Linked DNA regions of Homo sapiens: region 1 is linked to region 2. The links are contacts of gene promoters, found by promoter capture Hi-C in blood cells and fetal thymus (Javierre and others, 2016). All regions are on one chromosome and are shown on one strand. Each heading gives the region's core, a stretch centred on a gene start or on the middle of the fragment in contact. The rest is flanking DNA. Distances are from core to core; before and after follow the strand shown. Region 1 holds the start of LOC124900215 (a long non-coding RNA gene). Region 2 holds the start of ABCC10 (ATP binding cassette subfamily C member 10).

Region 1 (5,520 bases), core at 1,623-4,122, 440 kb after region 2:
CGCTTGAAGCTAGAAGGCAGAGGTTGTGGTGAGCCGAGATCGCGCCATTGCACTCCAGCCTGGGCAACAAGAGCAAAATTCCATCTCAAAAAAAAAAAAAAAAAAAGAAATGGCCTGTGTCAGGACATCATGATAAAGACATGGGTGTTCAGGGGTGGCTGGCCTGCAGGCTAAGAAGGAACAATAATCTGACAGTGAGGACAAATTCCCAATTTGAAGATGGTGTAGCTTAGGAAAGGCAGAAATCCAGCACTGGTGCGAAAAGAAAAAAAAAAAGGAAAAATGCAAAGGTTATCCTAGGATTAAGAATAAGGGTGAGGAGCCTACTCAGATTAGGAAAGGTGACTGGTCTAGGATGCACTTGGGTGACAGTTAGGAGGGCTTTGATACAAAAGAGGCCTTTAAGTCAGGAGACCTGATATTGCAGCTGGGCCTCCAGCAGGCTGTGTGACCTTGGACAAGTCCCTTGCCCTGTCGGGGCCTCAGTCTCCTCATCTGTACCATTAGGGATTGCACTGCATGCGCTCAGAGGTCCCTTCCAGCACCAACGTTGTGAGGTTCCATCAACAGAAGGGCTCAGTCCTGCTTACAAGTTTGTGTGTGAAGGAAGAACTAGAGGGAGGGGCCTAGGCCAGATTTGGGTGGAGGAGAGAGAAAGCAGCGCTGTTCTAGGTCAGGGGCTTGGCATGGAAAGAGAAGGGGCCGTAGGGGACTGCGGGGCGGCTGTCCCAGGCGGGTAGGAAGAGGAGACAAGGGGCTGCTCAGGGCGGGGCGAGGGGGCAATTCTGGAGGAAGGTGCAGTTTCAGATGAGGGGCTGCCCAAACCGAAGGGGGATCGGGGCCAGGGGTGATGGGGGGGACAGAAAAAGCAGGACAGTGACCTGGGAATGGGGCAGATCTGGAAGAAGGAGGTTACCCTGGGCCGGGGGTAAGAGAAGGGAAGAAGGGAGGGAGGTGTATGTGGGGGGAGTCTCTCCGGGGCAAGGTGGGGGAGCTGTCCTAGCTGCGGCACAAGCTGGGGGTGCTGCCAGCCGCGGGGGCGGAGGGCTGGCCCCAGGAGTCCTGCGGGGGCTGGACGGGAGGGTCAGTCTGGGGCTGTCCCGGGCCTGGCTCCGGCCCCTCCCAGAGCTCCGCGCAGGCTCCAAGGCGGCGGTGGGGGAAAAAGGGCCACGCTCACCTTCTCCTTTTTCAGTTTATAGGGCATCTCGGCCCGTCCGGACCCGGCCCGTCTCCTGCGGCCCCGCTCCGGCTCCGGCTTTGCTCGGCCGCACTCGGCCCGCTCGGCGTCTCTTCGCCACCGCCTGCGCGCTGCGCCCGGGTCGAGCGGTGCCTGCGCCTCCAATTGGCCCGAACTCCTACAAAACTGCCTGACAACCAGGCGCCGCCTCCTCGGATTGGTCATTGGAGCCAAGCTGCTTCCTTTTTTTCTTATTGGAAAGAAATAGTACAAACCGCCAGGGTTCGGCTTCCAGAATTGGCTGAAGTGGGTGGTCCCGCCCTAAAGTGGGTCGAGCTTAGAGAAGGAGGCGGGGATAAGGGGAAACCCAAGCTTGGCTAGGAGGGCTGCACTCCAGCGTCTGCTGTGCGTCGGCCTCGGCCATTCTTCGCGGCGCTTGGAGCCCTGCTCTTTCCTTCTAAAGGCTCTCACACTTTGCCCGCTCTGCTACCCTGTCCAGTCGGAATTGGAGGAAGGAAGCCCTAATACGGAGGGCACCTTTCTTCACTGGGGTAAAGTAGCCCTAATTGCAGATGCAAAATTGATGGAGGGAGCTCCCAAGGACCTTCCAAGACACCCGCCTCCCTAGACAGGGGTTGCAGAGGAGCAAAGGGGAAGCCTGGCAGGGCTAGGACCTGGGCGAAATGAGTGGAGAATCCCTGGCTTGGTGCAACTTTAGGAAGAGGGTCCCCGTTGCTACTGCAAGTGTACTGGGATTGGGGAACCAGCTAGATTTGAGCAGTTGGGAACGCAGTGGAAAAGCAACTTCATTGTTGACTGTCTCAGGAAATCCATCCCTTACTTGCCACCCTGCTCAAGTCCGTGTTCTAATGGGTAAGACTCAGTTTATGCCCACAAAGAGTTCGCAGTCTGGTGAATCACAGATGTGTATAAACAAAGGATTAAGAGAGAATGTAAACCAGGCAGGCACGGTGTCTCACGCCTGTAATCCCAACACTTTGGGAGGCTGAGGCAGGAGGATCACCTGAGGTCAGAGGTTCGAGACCAGCCTGGCCAACATGGCGAAACCCCGTCTCTATTAAAAATACAAAAATTAGCTGGGTGTGGTGGTGCACGCCTGTAATCCCAGCTACTCGGGAGGCTGAGGCAGGAGAATCACTTGAACCCGGGAGACGGAGGTTGCAGTGAGCCGAGATCACACCACTGCACTCCAGCCTGGGCGACAGAGCAAGACTCTGTCTCAAAACAGCAACAATGACGACAAAAAGAATAAACCTGTGGCCAGGCTCGGTGGCTCACGCCTGTAGTCCCAACACTTTGGGAGACCAAAGTGGGCAGATCACGAGGTCAGGAGTTTGAGACCAGCCTGACCATAGTGGTGAAACCCCATTTCTACTAAAAATACAAAAATTAGACAGGGTGCGGTGGCTCACGCCTGTAATCCCAGCACTTTGGGAGGCCGAGGTGGGCGGATCACGAGTCAAGAGATCGAGGCCATCCCGGCCAACATGGTGAAACCATGCCTCTATGAAAAATACAAAAATTAGCGGGGCGTGGTGGCGCGCGCCTGTAGTCCCAGCTACTCGGGAGACTGAAGCAGGAGAATCACTTGAACCCGGTAGGAGGCTGAGGCAGGAGAATTACTTGACCCCGGTAGGTGGAGGTTGCAGTGAGCCGAGATCATGCCACTGCGCTCCAGCCTGGGCGACAGAGCAAGACTCCGTCTACAAAAAAAAAAGAAGAAACCTGTGATGCAAAGGCATGAGAATGATACAATGGAGGCCGGGCGCGGTGGCTCACGCCCGTAATCCCAGCACTTTAGGAGGCCGAGGCGGGCGGATCACGAGGTCAGGAGATCGAGACCATCCTGGATAACACGATGAAACCCCGTCTCTACTAAAATAATACAAAAAAATAGCCGGGCGTGGTGGCAGGCGCCTGTAGTCCCAGCTACCCGGGAGGCTGAGGCAGGAGAATGGCGTGAACCCGGGAGGCAGAGGTTGCAGTGAGCCTAGATCATGCCACTGCACTCCAGCCTGGGCGACAGAGCAAGACTCCGTCTCAAAAAAAAAAAAAAATACTACACATTGGGTACAGTATACACTGCTTGGGTGATGGCTGCATCAAAATCTCATAAATCACCACTAAAGAACTTATTCATGTACAAAAAATAAATTTTTAAAATTCTATATAAAATAAAATATTTAGTCTTAAAAAAAAAAAAGGTCAGGCGCAGTGGCTCACGCCTGTAATCCCAGCACTTTGGGAGACTGAGGAGGGCGGATCACCTGAGGTCAGGAGTTCAGGACCAGCCTGGCCAACATGGCAAAACCCCGTCTCTACAAAAATACAAAAATTAGCCAGGCATGACGGTGGGTGCCTGTAATCCCAGCTACTCAGGAGGCTGAGGCAGGATAATCCATTGAACCCGGGAGGTGGAGTTTGCAGTGAGCCGAGATCGCACCATTGCATTCCAGCCTGGGCGACAGGGCAAGACTCCATCTGAAAAAAAAAAAAAAAAACACAAAACCTGTGTCCCTTACCCAGGTACCCAGGAGAGCAATGTTACAAGACAGTGGCCGTGGGGATGGAGAAGAGAGGATGGAGCATGAAAATGTGTAGAATCAACAGGATATGGTGATTCATTGTATTGTGGGGGGGACGGTAACGGAAAGGGAAGAGTTGAGGATGATTTCTGGAAGTGATCAGAGTTGTAGGAGGACAACTGGTGTCATAATGGCAAAGGAAATAAAAGACAATTGGTCAGTAGTGTCAGAGAAAGAACAGCATCATCTTGATTCTGCAATTAGAAGATTATGGGTGATTTTTTCAGAGAGTGGAAGACCGTTTTTAGTGAGTGGAAGAGTGAGCATCAAGAGGTGAGGAAGTGAAGATGGCAAATGTAGGGTCCTGGCGATCTTACAGAAGTAGTATTTGGCTTTCGGTGACTAATGACGATTTCAGGGTAACACAAAGTGGACTACATGCCCGCTGTTACCTGCTGGGAGAAAAGCTTGGGAGAAAAGGACATTTATTTGTGGGTGGGTATTTGTGTCTGTATGAGTGCTGATCCAGGCAAGATAACTGATGTTTTTACCCATCTCCAAGGCCTCAAGGAGCACTATAGTCCTGAGGCCTAGAGCTTGCCTGCTACTGAGGAAAGCAGGCATATCCTCTTTAGGCCCATGTACCATCTATCTAGCCCTTGGTTCCTCTGGGACATAGGGGACCAAGAAACATATAGTAGCACTACCAAATGGGAACTTTCATCCATGTGAATCTAGGTACCTAGAACATTCTTTATTTAGTTTTTTTTTCTTTTAATTTTATATATTTTAAGAGACAAGGTCTTGCTCTGTCACCCACTTGGAGTGCAGTGGCACAATCATAGCCTCAAATTCCTGGGTTCAAGTGATCCTTCTGCCTCAGCCTCCCCATAGCTGGGATTATAGACACAAGCCATGGTTCCTGGTTAGTACATTCTTGCATGCTATTTTATTTATTTTTTTCTATTATTTATTTTTTTGAGACGGAATCTCACTCTGTCACCCAGGCTGGAGTGCAGTGGCGCAGTCTCGGCTCACTGCAAGCTCTGTCTCCCGGCTTCACGCCATTCTCCTGCCTCAGCCTCCCGAGTAGCTGGGACTACAGGCACACACCACCATACCCAGCTAATTTTTGTATTTTTAGTAGAGACGGGGTTTCACCATGTTGGCCAGGCTGGTCTCAAACTCCTGGCCTCAAGCAGTCCACCCACTTGGCCTCCCAAAGTGCTGGGATTACAGCCATGAGCCACTGCGCCCAGCCCCTTATAATATGCAAATCTAATAGTTTTCATATATTTGTCTTTCAAATTTTCAGGAATGTATAATGTACAAAATAGAAGACTGCCTCAAGAAGAAAGGAGAGATGGAGAAAGCTGAGCAGTAGCTGAAAGAGAATGTAAGGTCTAGAAAATGGAGATTGGCACCATCCAATTCATTTATTGTAAGTGAAAATAATTGTTAATAATTGGAAATGCAGTGGGACATGATGGCTTATGCCTGTAGTCCCAGCACTTTGGGAGGCTGAGGCCTGAGGATCTCTTCAGACCAGGAGTTTGAGACCAGCCTAGGCAACACAGAGAAACTCTGTCTCTACAAAAAATAAAAAATTAGTCCAGGCGCAGTGGCTCATGCCTGTAATCCCAGCACTTTGGGAGGCGTAAGCAGGTGGCTCACTTGAAGCCAGGAGTTCGAGACCAGCCTGACCAACAGGGTGAAACCCCGTCTCTACTGAAAATACAACATTAGCTGGGTGTGGTGGCACACACCTGTAATCTCAGCTACTTGGGAGGCTGGGGC
Region 2 (6,079 bases), core at 2,545-5,044:
AAGGGTACATATTCATTTTTACAAAAGGATCCACCTAACAGTACCCTTAAATTCACCTGAAGCACTATTAAATGAATAAAAATCGGACTTACATACAGCTTTTATATTCTAATATGGTAGCCTAAACTTTATAAAGGCTTGGAATATTCTACTCTCTTTCCACTGATTATAGAAGGTGGTGTGGATTGCTTTTGCGACTCCTTTAGCTAAAGAAAAATATCTCTTTTTGCTTGTGTTTATATCTTCTTGGCATAAAAAAATGTTTTTAATAAACAAAAGGTGATCTGTCTGCATTAAGAATCAAATACAGGGGCTGGTCACAGTGGCTTATGCCCGTAATCCCAGCACTTTGGGAGGCTGAAGCAGGCAGATCACTTGAGATCAGCAGTTTGAGACCAGCCTGGCCAACATGGTAAAACCCGGTCTCTAATAAAAATACAAAAATTAGCAGGGAATGGTGGCACACACCTGTAATCCCAGCTACTTTGGGACACTGAGGCACGAGAATCGCTTGAACCTGGGAGGCGGAGGTTGCAGTGAGCTGAGATCGTGCCACTGTACTCCAGCCTGGGTGACAAAGAGAGACTCTGTCCAAAAAAAAAAAAAAGAATCAAATACAGGAAAACGTATCTGCAGCAGTGAGTATCAGGATGTCTTGAAAGTTCATACAAAAAGAGGACTGAGTCTGTTACACCCTTTGTGGCACGGCTAGGTTACTAAAAAAGTTTACTTGTAAGCTAAAATGCAGAGTCTTGCTCTGTCGCCAGGCTGGAGCGCAATGGCGTGATCTCAGCTCGCTGCAACCTCCGCCTCCCAGGTTCAAGCGATTCCCCTGCCTCAGCCTCCCGAGTAGCTGGGGGTTTTCTTAAAAGTCCACCTGATGACAGTTATTTGTAGGGATTTAGATGGGAATAAAAAATCAGCCTTTAAGAATTCTATTTCTGGGCTGGGCATGGTGGCTCAAGCCTGTAATCCCAGCACTTTGGGAGGCAGAGGCAGGTGGATCACTTGAGGCCAGGAGTTCAAGACCAGCCTGTGTAACACAGTGAAACTCCATCTCTAGTAAAAATACGAAAACTGGCCAGGCATGGTGGCACATGCCTGTAGTCTCAGCTACTCTGGAGGCTAAGGCAGGAGAATCGCTTGAACCCAAGAGGTGGAGGTTGCAGTGGGCCGAGATCGTGCCACTGCTCTCCAGCCTGGGTGACAGAGTAAGACCCTGTCTCAAAGAAAAAAAAAATTTTTTTCTATTTCTGGCTGGGCATGGTGGCTCACATTTGTAAACCCAGAACTTTAGGAGGCTGAGGCAGAAGGATTGCTTGAGCCCAAGAGTTCAAGACCAGCCTGGACAACAAAGCAAGGCCTTGTCTCTACTAAAAATAATTTTTTCTTTTTGAGACAGAGTCTCGCTTTGTCGTCCAGGCTGGAGTGCAGTGGTGCAATCTTGGCGCACCACAACCTCTGCCTCCTGGGTTCAAGCGATTCAAGATGGGGTTTCACCATGTTGACCAGGCTGGTTTCAAACTCCTGACCTCCAGTGATCTGCCTGTCTCAGCCTCCCAAAGTGCTGGGATTACAGGCATGAGCCACTGGGCCCGGCCAATTTTTTGTATTTTTAGTAGAGATGGCATTCTGCCACGTTGGCAGGCTGGTCTCGAACTCCTGGCCTCCTACAGTGCTGGCATTACAGGCTTGAGCCACTGCACCCGGCCTATTAAAAATAATTTTTAAAAAAATTAGCCAGGTGTGGTGGCATGCACTTGTGGCCCCAGCAAATCAAAAGGCTGAGGTGAGAGGTTGCTGGAGCCCAGGAGGTTGAGGCTGCAGTGAACTGTGATTGCACCACTGTACTTCAGCCTGGGCAACAGAGGGAGACGCTGCCTCAAAAAACAAAACAACAATAACAATCCCCCCTCCCCCCCGCCACACACACACACACACACACACACACACACACACACAAGAAAGAAAAGAAAGAAAGAAAAGAAAGAAGGAAAAGAAAAAAATATATATATTTCCTAAGATGTGGGGACCCAAGAAAGAACACTGGGCCCTTGGAGGCATAAACTGGCCCCAAGTTGGCCATCAACCAGCCTCATCACCCCTTCAAGTCTCTTTTCCTCTCTGAATCTCACTTTCCTCACCAGTATGGTGAGCAGTGAGTCTCAAGTTAAAGCCTTCTGAGGCCCTTTCCTGTCTTAGATTCTCGATCTCTCTAACCCTTCTCAGCAACACACACAAGGCTGATAAGTGAAGTGAAGCACAATTTCTATTGATCACATGATGGTCTTTCTTGCTTTCCCAGGGGGCGGATGAATCCCTTCCTTGGATAGGAGAAGCTGTGTATCCGCTTGGTCTGGGAGGAATCCTGATTTGTTTCTTACACAGAGACAAAAGTCTAGAAGGGTTTAATCACCTAGCATAGACAGCCTTCTCAGAAGAGCAGCTATTAAAAATTGGCACAGTCTTTTGGGAACTCAGTCTAATGAGAAAGCAAGAAAGACCTCTTGGATAGAGACACTTCCCCCCATCAGACTAGGAACTCCCAAAGGCAGAGACCACACCGTCCTCCTATCTTCTCGGCAGCCAGAATGAGACTAACTTTAGTCATCTCTAGCCATACAAGAACTAAATACAAAATCAAGTTGAGTTTAGCATCCACACCTTATAGCCCTTAATTGGGGAAGGCTTAATGTTTGATTTTGCTCTTCTTGTCTATCTACTGCTTCCTCTTCAGCTGAGCCTAGGTATGCTTTTCTTAATCTGGAAACACTAAGGTTTCATGGGTTGCAGTGGTGAGAAACTGAGCCTACAACTTAAACACATCATCGCTTTTGGCTAAAAACGTTGTTCCCCCAATTCTGCCTCCAATTCATGACAGCTGAGTCCGGGTAGCTGAAAATGGACAATTCTGATGATTTCTGATACTCATCGGACCTTTAAAAACATGCCAGGCGCTGCACTATATGCTTAAATTCATTATCTCATTTAAACCTCCCAACAATGAGACTCAGAGAAGGCAGGTACTTGCCCAAGAACAGCCACATTGCTGCTAAGTAGCAATGCTTAGATTTTATTCTACTTCTGCCCTACTCCAGAGACCTCGCTATTCTGGTGACACTGCCGGAAGATGTAGGCCGCGGGTGAGATCTGCAGGCACACATGGACAGATGCCTTGCGCCCGTCTCTACCCACCTCGGGGTGCCCAAGTAACAGGCACTGAGCACGGCGAGGAGCGCGTGGGGCAGGGCGCTGAGCACCAGCTGGGTGAAGCAGTGGCCTGTGGTGTCCCCCTCCCACAGCGGGAGCGGCCACGCTGCGCTGCTGCCGCACAGCTGGGCCAGAAGTCGTTCCATGGACGCCTCACCTGAAGGGAAAGTTGAGGGTGACGGCTGTGCAGGGTAACAGCCGGCTTTGCCTGCACTTCCCAGCCGGGTCTCCCTGTCTCCAGCCCCGCCCTGGAACCGGGACCGCCCGTCGCTTCCGCCCCGAAGCCAGACCCCGCCCATTCTCGCGGTACCAAGGGTAAAAACGGGAGGAGGTTTCCCCAGTGGATTTCTGGACGCTGGTCACCCACCTTGCCATCTGTTTTTCCCCTCCCGTTTCTCCGCCCCCAGGCATCCGGAACCTCAAACCTGAAGAAGCTGCTGTGCACCGGATTCCGATATCCTGAGAACTGGTGTATGCAAAAAAAAAAAAAGTACTGCCCGGCCGGGGTGCTGGGCCCGCCCCGGCTGGCACCCCACCTAGAGGTTGGAAGACCTAGCCGGCGCTATTCGCCACGCCCATATGCTGGTAGCTGCACGCATGTGCACTGCTCTCTGCTTCGGCTGGCCTTTGCACGCAGGCGCGCTGGTGCAGACGCACAGTTGCGTTTTGGTACGCTTTTGTGGCCTGACTTGCGTTAAGGATCCATCCCTCCCTTAGTGCAACGTCATTTATAACCTCTCACGTGGAGTATTCGCTCACAACTGTGTAAGCTTACTAGTTGGCACAAGCATTGCAATCTCCATTTCTTGAAGAGGTGGGGAGCCGGGCACGGTTGCGCGCCTCGGTAGTCCCTGCGCGCCCGTAGTCTCTGCGCGCCGGTAGATCCCAGGAGGATGGCCTGAGCCCAGGAGTTCGAGAACAGTCCAAGCAGCATAGCGAGACCCCAGTCTCAGATAGATAGATGGATGGATGGAAATTCAAACATACCTGCCCCACGGACAAATAATGCCATTTTGGGACACACTGTTTTCCCTTATTATTCTAGGGCTGCATGACCTTGGACAAGTTACCTAACTTTTTTGAGCCTCAACTTTTTTTTGGGGGGGGGACGGAGTCTCGCTCTGTCACCAGGCTGGAGTGCAGTGGCACAATCTCGGTTCACTGCAACCTCCGCCTCCCGGGTTAAAGCGATTCTCCTGCCTCAGCCTCCCGAGTAGCTGGGACTACAGGCGCGCGCAACCACGCCCAGCCAATTTTTTTGTTCGTATTTTTAGTAGAGACGGGGTTTCACCATGTTGGCAAGGATGGTCTCGATCTCCTGACCTCGTGATCCGTCCGCCTTGGCCTTCCGAAGAGCCGGGATTACAGGCGTGAGCCACCACCCCGGCCGAGCCTCAACTTCTTTATTTGTACAACAGGGACAATACCAATACTAAAGTACTGTTGAGAGAGTTGAATAATTAATTTAGAGTGCTTAGGGCAAGTGCTTTGCCTAGGGTAGTCCTCCAATAAATCTTTTAAGGAAGCAGTGGGAAGAACATAACCTTTATAATTATACGGACCTGGGTTTGAATGCTTTTAGCAGAGGGATGTTGGGCAGGTTACTTCTGCATCTTTATTTTATTATGTTTGTCAGGCATGGTGTTGGTATCCGCCTTTACATAGGTGTGTACAGTGCTTGAAGAAGAAAAGCTAAACAAATGACAATTATGGTTATCCCACTTAATCTCAGTAAGAAGCCCCATATCCCTCAACGTCAAGAATTAATTTTCCTATTTTTAAAAACTAAGAGATGTAGGTTTGCATTTCACAATCTTTAGTAATTAATTAACAGAGTCTTGCTACCTGGCCCAGGCTGGTCTTGAACTCCTGGCCTCAGGTGATGCGCTTGCCTTGGCCTCCCAAAGTGCTGGGATTATAGGTGTGAGCCACTGCACCTGGCCAGGCTCCACTTCTAATTCTAATTCACTTGCTGTTTCCATCACATCTGCAGTTACTTCCTCCACTGATGTCTTGAAGGTCCATCCGTGAAGGTTGGAATCAGCTTCTTCCAAACTTCTGTTAATGTTGATATACGTTGTCCTCCTCCCATGAATCCCATGAATCACAGTTTTTTATTTATTTATTTATTTATTTTTATTGATCATTCTTGGGTGTTTCTCGCAGAAGGGGATTTGGCAGGGTCATAAGACAATAGTGGAGGGAAGGTCAGCAGATAAACAAGTGAACAAAGGTCTCTGGTTTTCCTAGGCAGAGGACCCTGCGGCCTTCCGCAGTGTTTGTGTCCCTGGGTACTTGAGATTAGGGAGTGGTGATGACTCTTAACGAGCATGCTGCCATCAAGCATCTGTTTAACAAAGCACTTGCACCGCCCTTAATCCATTTAACCCTCAGCGGACACAGCACATGTTTCAGAGAGCAGGGGGTTGGGGGTAAGGTCATATATTAACAGCATTCCAAGGCAGAAGAATTTTTCTTAGTACAGAACAAAATGGAGTCTCCTATGTCTACTTCTTTCTACACAGACACAGCAACAATCTGATTTCTCTATCTTTTCCCCACATTTCCCCCTTTTCTATTCGACAAAACCACCATCGTCATCATGGCCCGTTCTCAATGAGCTGTTGGGTACACCTCCCAGATGGGGTGGCGGCCGGGCAGAGGGGCTCATCACTTCCCAGAAGGGGCGGCCGGACAGAGGCGCCCCCCACCTCCAGGACAGGGCAGCTGGCCGGGCGGAGGCGCCCCCCCCCACCTCCTGGACGGGGCAGCTAGCCGGGCGGGGGCTGCCCCCCACCTCCCGGACGGGGCAGCTGCCAGGCGGAGACGCTCCTCACTTCCCAGACAGGGCAGCTGCCGGGCGGAGGGG

What was found. The method cuts DNA at HindIII sites, captures the fragments that hold promoters and counts their contacts. A CHiCAGO score of 5 or more calls a contact.
Region 1: a fragment that was not itself captured here is called in contact with the fragment with the promoter of ABCC10 in region 2 in 3 of 17 cell types (erythroblasts, fetal thymus and total CD8 T cells); the score reaches 5.9 in erythroblasts.

Annotation. Positions count from the first base shown.
Region 1 is chr6:42,980,362-42,985,881 of GRCh38, reverse strand. It overlaps LOC124900215 (a long non-coding RNA gene), which reads left to right and starts at 1,568. Exons shown (of 2, transcript XR_007059580.1): 1 at 1,568-2,050; 2 at 5,039-5,340. PPP2R5D (protein phosphatase 2 regulatory subunit B'delta) reads right to left here and starts at 1,312. Exons shown (of 16, transcript NM_006245.4): 1 at 1,178-1,312. The coding sequence starts at 1,204. RefSeq lists silencers at 954-1,103, 1,194-1,263, 4,442-4,660 and an enhancer at 1,414-1,533. The HindIII fragment of the contact is 2,641 bases long and covers 1,552-4,192 here.
Region 2 is chr6:43,425,256-43,431,334 of GRCh38, reverse strand. ABCC10 (ATP binding cassette subfamily C member 10) reads right to left here and starts at 3,794. Exons shown (of 22, transcript NM_001198934.2): 1 at 3,578-3,794; 2 at 3,196-3,367. The coding sequence starts at 3,356. LOC105375065 (a long non-coding RNA gene) reads right to left here. Exons shown (of 6, transcript XR_007059585.1): 6 at 5,321-6,079. RefSeq lists enhancers at 3,148-3,217, 5,319-5,840. The HindIII fragment of the contact is 12,589 bases long and covers 1-3,982 here.